Linked DNA regions of Homo sapiens: region 2 is linked to region 1. Evidence: promoter capture Hi-C in 16 types of primary human blood cells and fetal thymus (Javierre and others, 2016). All regions are on one chromosome and are shown on one strand. Each heading gives the region's core, a stretch centred on a gene start or on the middle of the fragment in contact. The rest is flanking DNA. Distances are from core to core; before and after follow the strand shown.

Evidence for each region. The method cuts DNA at HindIII sites, captures the fragments that hold promoters and counts their contacts. A CHiCAGO score of 5 or more calls a contact.
Region 2: a fragment that was not itself captured here is called in contact with the fragment with the promoter of CLDN1 in region 1 in 1 of 17 cell types (fetal thymus); the score reaches 5.0 in fetal thymus.

Annotation. Positions count from the first base shown.
Region 1 is chr3:190,320,436-190,324,243 of GRCh38, forward strand. It overlaps CLDN1 (claudin 1), which reads right to left and starts at 2,011. Exons shown (of 4, transcript NM_021101.5): 1 at 1,549-2,011. The coding sequence starts at 1,771. It also overlaps a transcript of CLDN16 not described here. RefSeq lists a silencer at 2,002-2,161. The HindIII fragment of the contact is 3,794 bases long and covers 1-3,037 here.
Region 2 is chr3:189,277,444-189,281,586 of GRCh38, forward strand. All of the region lies in intron 4 of TPRG1 (tumor protein p63 regulated 1), which reads left to right. Among named protein-coding and RNA genes, the nearest start is that of TPRG1-AS2, 39 kb to the left of the region's middle. The HindIII fragment of the contact is 3,131 bases long and covers 46-3,176 here.

The sequences.
Region 1 (3,808 bases), core at 761-3,260:
TTTTTCATTTTATAAGTACAAATATAACCCCTGAGGGCAATGAGCAACACATAATTACTAAACTTATGGATTGGTTTTGGTGTAAAGAAGTCCTGATATGAGAACCTTCAAAAGCTGAAATAATAACACTCAAAACAACCATGCACATTGACTGAGCAAATGCCACAGGTATTCAAGGTGTTCAAACAGATTTGGAACAGGTTTAATAACTCTAAACTATATGGCTTTTGATATACACTATTAAAAGTTGTCCCTTGATAGGAGGTAGACAAAACAAGTTAAGTAAACTTGAACAATGCCAACACTTTTCACCCTTAGCATGCAATGGGGGCCAGTGGGCAGTCACGTTCATCTAGGCAAAGACTAAGGGATCTTTTCTTCAAGTGAGTTAAAGGGCATAACAGACACATGATATAAGACAATTAATGTGATTTCTCAAGGAAGATACTCCAGCCGTGAATCATTATTATCTAAGTAAATGGGAATTTAATGACTTTTCGGACAAGGAACTCGAAACCTTTAATTTAAAAAACAAAGTAAAACAATTATCCTATTATCCTTCTTCCCACCATCCTTAGAAATATGTCTCTCTATACAATCCTTTCCAGTTTTACAGGGGGTCACTGAACATCCATTACACAGAAATTTCTTTGTGGAAGATGGAAACCTAAGGAAGACCCACCTCTTCTTTCTCTCTCACTGCCTTCCACTCCCAGCTGACCTCTGATTTCATCAGCTATGACTATTTTGCTGCATTTCCCTTCAGTGCCTTTACTTTTTTCTTTGTATTATGTTGCGCAGGTTATTTAGAACCTTTCTTGTCAGCCTTTCCCCACCTGCCACCAACCTTCTCTTTCCAAGATAGCACTACACCGTCAGCCTCTACAGAAGACCTTGGGTCTGAAAATTAAAACTTCGGGGGAATCTCAAGCAGCTTCTCCAAAGAGTCTTGCAAGGGGCCTCCCTGCACTAACTGGATCTTATAAATTAAAAGAATCAACCTCAAGCATAAGCAGAAGACACTTAGATAGGACATTTCCAGTAGGAATGTAACTTTTACTATGAAAAAATCATATTAAAGGTTAAAAAGTTATATCTAATACTTGAGGATTATTTATTTAAGCGTGCACACTTGAGAAGTTACCAGGCTTCAAACTTTTTCAGTCATCCCATTTTCTTGTCTGAACTCTACCAATCCTCAATTTACCCCAAATCTCGGAATGCCTAGGAGAGGTCTAAGAGCTCAAGTTCAAGTTTGGCCTTCACTCCCTCAACTCGAACCACCAGCATAGGAATTTAGGATGAAGCCACACCTAGAGTGGCAGAAGTGTCACCCAGGGAGTTAGAGGCAAAACTAGAGCTTATGCCTGGGCGTCGCTTTCCTCAAACCAGGATTCTCTTCATTTCCTTATGACAGAGCACATGATCAGAAGACTTGATCAACTGAAGACTGATAACCATGGAATCACACAACAGAATGAGCCCATAAGGGAGCTGCAGGGGGACTGGGGCCTCTGGACGGCCGCTGTGAGGTGGGGGTGCACTCACTGCTCAGATTCAGCAAGGAGTCAAAGACTTTGCACTGGATCTGCCCGGTGCTCTGCGACACGCAGGACATCCACAGCCCCTCGTACATGGCCTGGGCGGTCACGATGTTGTCGCCGGCATAGGAGTAAATCCTCCACTGGGGCAGGGCAGTGCTGACGATGGCGCCGATCCATCCCAGGAAGGCGAGAATGAAGCCCAACAGCTGCAGCCCCGCGTTGGCCATGACTCGCTCGGGCGCCCGCGCTGGCTCAGGGGTGGCAGGTGCAGAAGGCGGAGAGTTTGCAGGTGGGCAACCCGGACTCCCGAAGGTGGCTGGGCCCCGCGGAGGAAGTTAAGGCGGGGAGCCCTGCTCGCTGCGCCGCCGCTGGAGAAGCTCTGGGTCGGGGTTGGGGTCCGCGCCCGGGGCGGCGCTGGAGTCTGGATACTAGAAGCTGCGGTTGCTCCCAGGCTCGGGAACTGAGACGCAGAACCGCTGGGCGCCGCGATTTAAAGCAGCTCCGCCCGCCTCAGCCCCGGCAGCCGGGGAGCGCCCCCTGGCGGTTTCAGGGCGGCTCACCGAGAGGGCGCCGGGAGCGCCCGGTTGGGGAACGCGCGGCTGGCGGCGTGGGGACCACCCGGCAGGACCAGGCACCAGAGCTGCGTCCCTGCTCGCTTTCTCTCGTGGATCTTCTCGCTCCTGTAAGGCGTTTCACGCTTTTCATTCATTCACTCCAATTATCCAAAAATTACTATGCACTGTACTTGTAAATCCTAACACAAAGATGAAAAAATGATCCTTCAAGAGCTGCAGTTTTAGGTTTAATACTTTTTTCCCAATATCTTATTAAAAGGCATTTCTACCCAACTCCGCGTCTCCTCCCCCATCACACCATTTCTCTCTCCTTTGCTTGGCTTCCTCCCCCTTCTTTCCTCTCTCTGCTCTCTTCTGTCAAGGTCGTTCCATCACTTGTCTCTGCAAGGAGCCTCAGAGACTTTTACACTCTACAGATTGGGAAACAGACCCAGAGAGCAACATGATTTACACACACACACACACACACACACAGACACACTCACGCACGGAGCATATCCAGTACTTGGCTCCCCTCCCAATCTGCTTTCCACTACATATCAAGTTGACCCAAAATATCCCCTTTGATCTATGATTGTCCTTTTTGATGTATTATTGTCCTTATGAAACTGCAGGCTAGCAGCCCTTCCCCGCCAAACACCAACCTCCTCCCCACAGCAGTTATGTCTTAGAGCAGCAATTCATTATCAGAGGGACCTGGCCAGTGCCCCGCTCTCCCTGAAAGGTGTTAATTTTGTGAGTTATCAAATGTTGTTCGTCGCAGGTGAGGACATGTAAACAGCGTTTCCCCAGTGGCAAAAGGACTGGGCTGGAGTTGAGGAAGTCTGGGCTCTGGTTCCAGCTTTTACTGTGACTGGCTATCTCACCCCTCCGGTTTCGGTCTCGCTGGGACTGTAGTTTCCCTCTATGTTTCTCCAAAGCTTCCTTCTTTGTAGTTAGTCAGAAGTGCTGTTGTGGTTAGGAATCATTGAAATGTTTTTCCAACTGCTTTTTGTGTGTGGTGCGAGTGTGGTGGGAGGGGAAGCTTCTATGGTTTTAGTAAAAACAGAAGCATCTTGGAAGCAGAAATAAACATATTAAGGATAAAATAAGATATACCCTTATATACCATGGCAACTGCTAGTTGGTGACAGAGAAGGAAAGGTGCAAATTCTCAAGGTGGGAATGGGAAGAAAGGCCAAGCCCCACCACCTTCATTTCCACCTGGCTCTCCCTGGATGCCTTTCATGTAGGCTTAAAACTAAAGGACTTGGCCGTGCTAGGATTTAGGGACAAGCAATGAAGAATGTAAGACAGGAGCTAGATGAAGACAATTAATTTGGACTGAGATTAACACAGTGAATACTGTCTTTCTCCTATCAGCTGTTTAGGACAAGACCATGTTCGTGTTGTATCCCAGGGTTAGGGCCTGCAGTCAGTACTACTGTCTAGGTCTCAGTGGATGTTCTGTGGGTGCCTGTCAGTGTGGATGAAGATGTATCAATCACATTTGATTTTGTAAAAATTCCCTGATCAGAGAAGGCACTGGAATTTGCTGCAGGACTAGAGCAGTACCATGTGAATCATATAATCTCATTTTCTTCTTTTTTTTGTTCCAAACATTTAAGAATTAAAAGTATTATTAAACACCCGGGCACGGTGGCTCAGGCCAGGCGCAGTGGCTCACGCCTGTAATCCCAACACTTTGGG
Region 2 (4,143 bases), core at 361-2,860, 1.0 Mb before region 1:
AAGATTAAGAATCAGAATAAATACAGCTCTATGCTATTAGAAAAAAGCTTCATTTTTTAAAATGTGTTTTTTCATTTTTGATTCAAGTCTTACCAAATCAAAATGTGTCACTCATCAGATGTTTGCAGTGAACACGTTTGGACAGTATACAGAATAGAGAAGATTAAATCAAAGTTTAACGTCTTGAAGTGCTGAAAGTCAATTAATTAATTAGAAAGATAATTGTTGGAATTATGTATAGGCAACTTAAATCCAAAAAAGAAAATTAATATATTAAGGAGCATGAGAAGCATCAATCCATGAATTCAAATGTATTTTACAGCTTTACGAGTCCAATCCCACATTGTTGGAATCACTATTATGTTAGCTGGCAGGATGGAAACTGGTGTCTGCTTCAACTTACTCAAAAATGGGGAACTCACTACCTCCTCAGCCAGCATATTCTGTTTTTAAATAAGATATAGCTGTTACAAACTTCTGTTTTTACAAATCTGATTCATCAGTGCTTCTTTTGCCTCTGAAGCCACGTCGAAGCCTATTTCTTTGTATCCATAAGCACCTTTCAGATTTGTGAGCATTACATCATTTCCTTTCTCAGGCTTTGTGTCTGCAGGCTGATCAACCCTCTTTCCAGAGGACTTCCACTCCTATGCAGGATGTTAAAGCCTCTGCCACCATGCTCCTTCCACATGCCCTTTGTTGCTTGATTAGGCTTGGTGGCTTTTCTTTCCACAATATTCTGCCTTTGTAGAGTTAAAATGATGCTTTGACCCCAAGTCTCAGGAGCAGTGAAGGGCCTGGGTAACCTATTGCCTGGGTTATCAGGTGAATCTTCCCAAGGTGAGCATTTGGGCAGTGGTTGCTCGAGTGCCCTGGGTGGAGAGAGAGCAGCAGGGGTCTACAGGTCAGGAGTCTGGATTCTCACAGGCCTGTGTCTTCTAACCCAGTTCCAAGTGCTGGAAGCCGGTGCTGGAAAGCAGATTGCTTTACGTACTGTGAGCAGATTGTGTAACCAGACCCATAATGTCCCTTGTCAGTAATGGGCTAAATGATGCTATGAACAATGCCAATTTCTATCCATCTCTGTAGTCCATATGCTTGTTAAATAAGGTTAAATGTGGCATCATGGAGGAAAAAAGGTACTTAGGACTTAGGAAACCTAAACCTAAATTCTTGTTCTGGCAAGCGTCAAGATCTAACATAGCCTCAGTTTCTTCCATCTGAAAACATCTCCTATGCTTCTGTGTGTCAAGTATTGTGCCAGAGCTCTATAAACTTTGTCTCTCACATTCAAAGCACTGTAATCCAGGTGTCATCACCACCACTTGACAGCCATGTCCTGGAATTTGAAACCAGGTCTGCCTGTGATCTTCTTTTCTCTTCCATCACCCCCTTGCTAAAATGAGGCAGAGGGACTAGAACTCGTATATACCCATGTATAATATGCCATTTCCAGTCCCAAGTACTTATGCTCATATTCCTAAGAAGTGTATATATTGCATACAAGAGCAAAACTCCATAAATGAAACCTGTTAAAATGTATTTGACATCAGAGTTGTTCTAGTGGTGGAGGTAGGCAAACTTTTTCTCTAAAGGACTAGATAGTAAATATCGTAGATTTTATGAACTATACAGTATCTGCTTCAACTGCTAACTCTGATGTTGTAGAGTGAAAGCAACCACAGGCAATATATAAATGAGTGAATACACCTGTGTTCCAATAAATCTTTATTTACAATAACAGGCAATGGGCTTGATTTGGCCAGCAGATCCTAGTTTGCCAACCTTTTCCTGAAGAGAGTGGAGAGTCAGAATAGTGGAGAACAACTCTTGGTGGGCCCTATTCTATCCTGTTCAACTTTCTATGCATGATTCAGTTGAAGGTAGAGATCACAACTGGGAAATCTGCAAATTCCAGGACATCAGGAATGTTCTCTAATATACGTTATGACATAATTGGGGTGCAGAAAGAGGCAAGTATGCCCTAGTGCTTAGGATTATTGTCTTTGGAGTCAGGTGGACCTTCATTCAGATTGTAGCTCTATAATTATCTATTTGGAGAAACTAATTTGTGTAAATTATTCAATCTCTCTAAACCTTATTTTTTCTCATCTGTAAATGGACATAATTTTACCTTTCTCAAGGGTTGTTGTGAGGATTAAATTAGATGATGTATATAAAGTATTTAGAACAATGCTGAACATAGTGAGCCCTCAATGAAAGGTAGTATGAAAAACCTCACTGAATTAAGAACAGAAACAAAGGAAAACACCCAGTTTGGAGGAGAAATGGCATAAACTAATTTATCAGGAAGAGGCAGAATACCCTGACTACTAATTCAGGTTGTTTCTAGACACTCACTATCAACGTATAGATTGTGACTTTGGATGAAACAGTACAGGGAGGTAATTCCTTCTCTAATAAGATGTTTATGAAAAGTTATAGGGGTGTATGAATGAACGGGAAAACTGAATGTAGTCCTTCAGATAGGCAGAAGAGTTAGAGGAAAAGTTAGAATATTTGGTAGATCACGGGTCTTTATCTGGAAAACCTCTGAGCGGGATTGGTAGCCACTTCCCATTATGGTATGGTTGGATAGAATTCCTGCTGTGGAAAATAAGAGGGATTAGTGATATTAGACTATCTCTTTTGTAGCTCAGGGACTTATCTGTTAACATATATCTCATATCAGCACCTGTTGTTTAGCCCTGTTGTAAACAACAGGACTAGCACCATAGTGGTTAGTGAAGAGTGTAGAGTGAAAGCAGCCACGGGCAATATAGAAGTGAATGAATGCACCTGTGGATATACATAAATGAATGGAATAATATATATAAATGAATGGATATATATAAATGAATGGAATAATATATATAAATGAATGGAAGACATTTTAGATGACGAACTAGGACTTACTGAACATTGACTTCTTTCCGTATAGGATAAAATGTTTTTTGTAAGTATGAGTGTCATGAATGAGAGGAGACTCAGTTCATATAACATGTGTATTAATAATAGGAATTGAAAAACTTAGAGCTTTTTTATGCCCCTCTTTCCTACTTTATCTTGTATCTTTCCACTCCTCTAAGCTGCAGCATTGAGACCCATATCTAAAACTTCTCTACATGCACCTAAACAGGACCAATGGAAACCTATGCACATGGAGGCCAACAAGAAGCTTGGGGAAGGTAAAGGGAAGGTGATTGCCATAACAGAAAGAACACAGGACTCGAAGACAGATAGCCTGGGTTAAAGCTGTAACCCTACCATGGCTATTTCTCTTACCTGAGGCAAATTAATTCACCTCTCTGAGTCTTGGATTTGCTCTGTAATATATGAATGATACTATCTGCATCATAGCGTTGTATTAAAGATTAAGGGATATAATACATGTAGCAGACAGTTTTGATTGCCTACCCAACAATCACTTATGCCCTTCCCCCATCCTAAGCAGAACCACTTTTAACTACGTATCTATTCTCCTTCGGGAGACCCATGAGATTCAGGAAAGGTGGTCTGCAGCCCCAGGAGAAGAATGATGGCAAGCTCTCCTACATGTCAGTTAGTGTCTTAGCCATGACTGTATGACCCAATTCAGGCCCAATAACTGACATGTTATAGGACTTGCCATCAACCAAATGCTGTTAAAATGTCTTTACATACATTAACTCATTTAACACACTATAAGGTAGATACTATTATTCATTTCACAAATGAGGAAGCTAACGAATAGAGAGGTTAAGGAACTGCTTCAAGGAAACACAGCTAATAAATGGTAAAGCAAGGTCCACACCTAGGAGTCTGATCCCAGACTATGTGCTCCTAACCACTGAGCAATATCACTTCCCACAAATGTGAAAATCTCCTAGTAAACTTAAGGAAAACATGTTCTTTATTGATTAAAAAAATGGGAAGAAGTCCTACATTGTTGGGTCTGTATGTGAAACTTCGTACACCTTTAGCCATGTTACTACCCTGAGAGGAACTACAGTGAAATGTAGAGGACAGCAAAACAGAAAGATGAAAATATTTTTTGTTTAAAAATGTCATTTATATCCTGAGCCAATCACCCATTGAACTATGTTATCGTGGATGCATATGTGTGTGTGTGCACGTGAGTGTGTATAAGAGATATGGAGACAT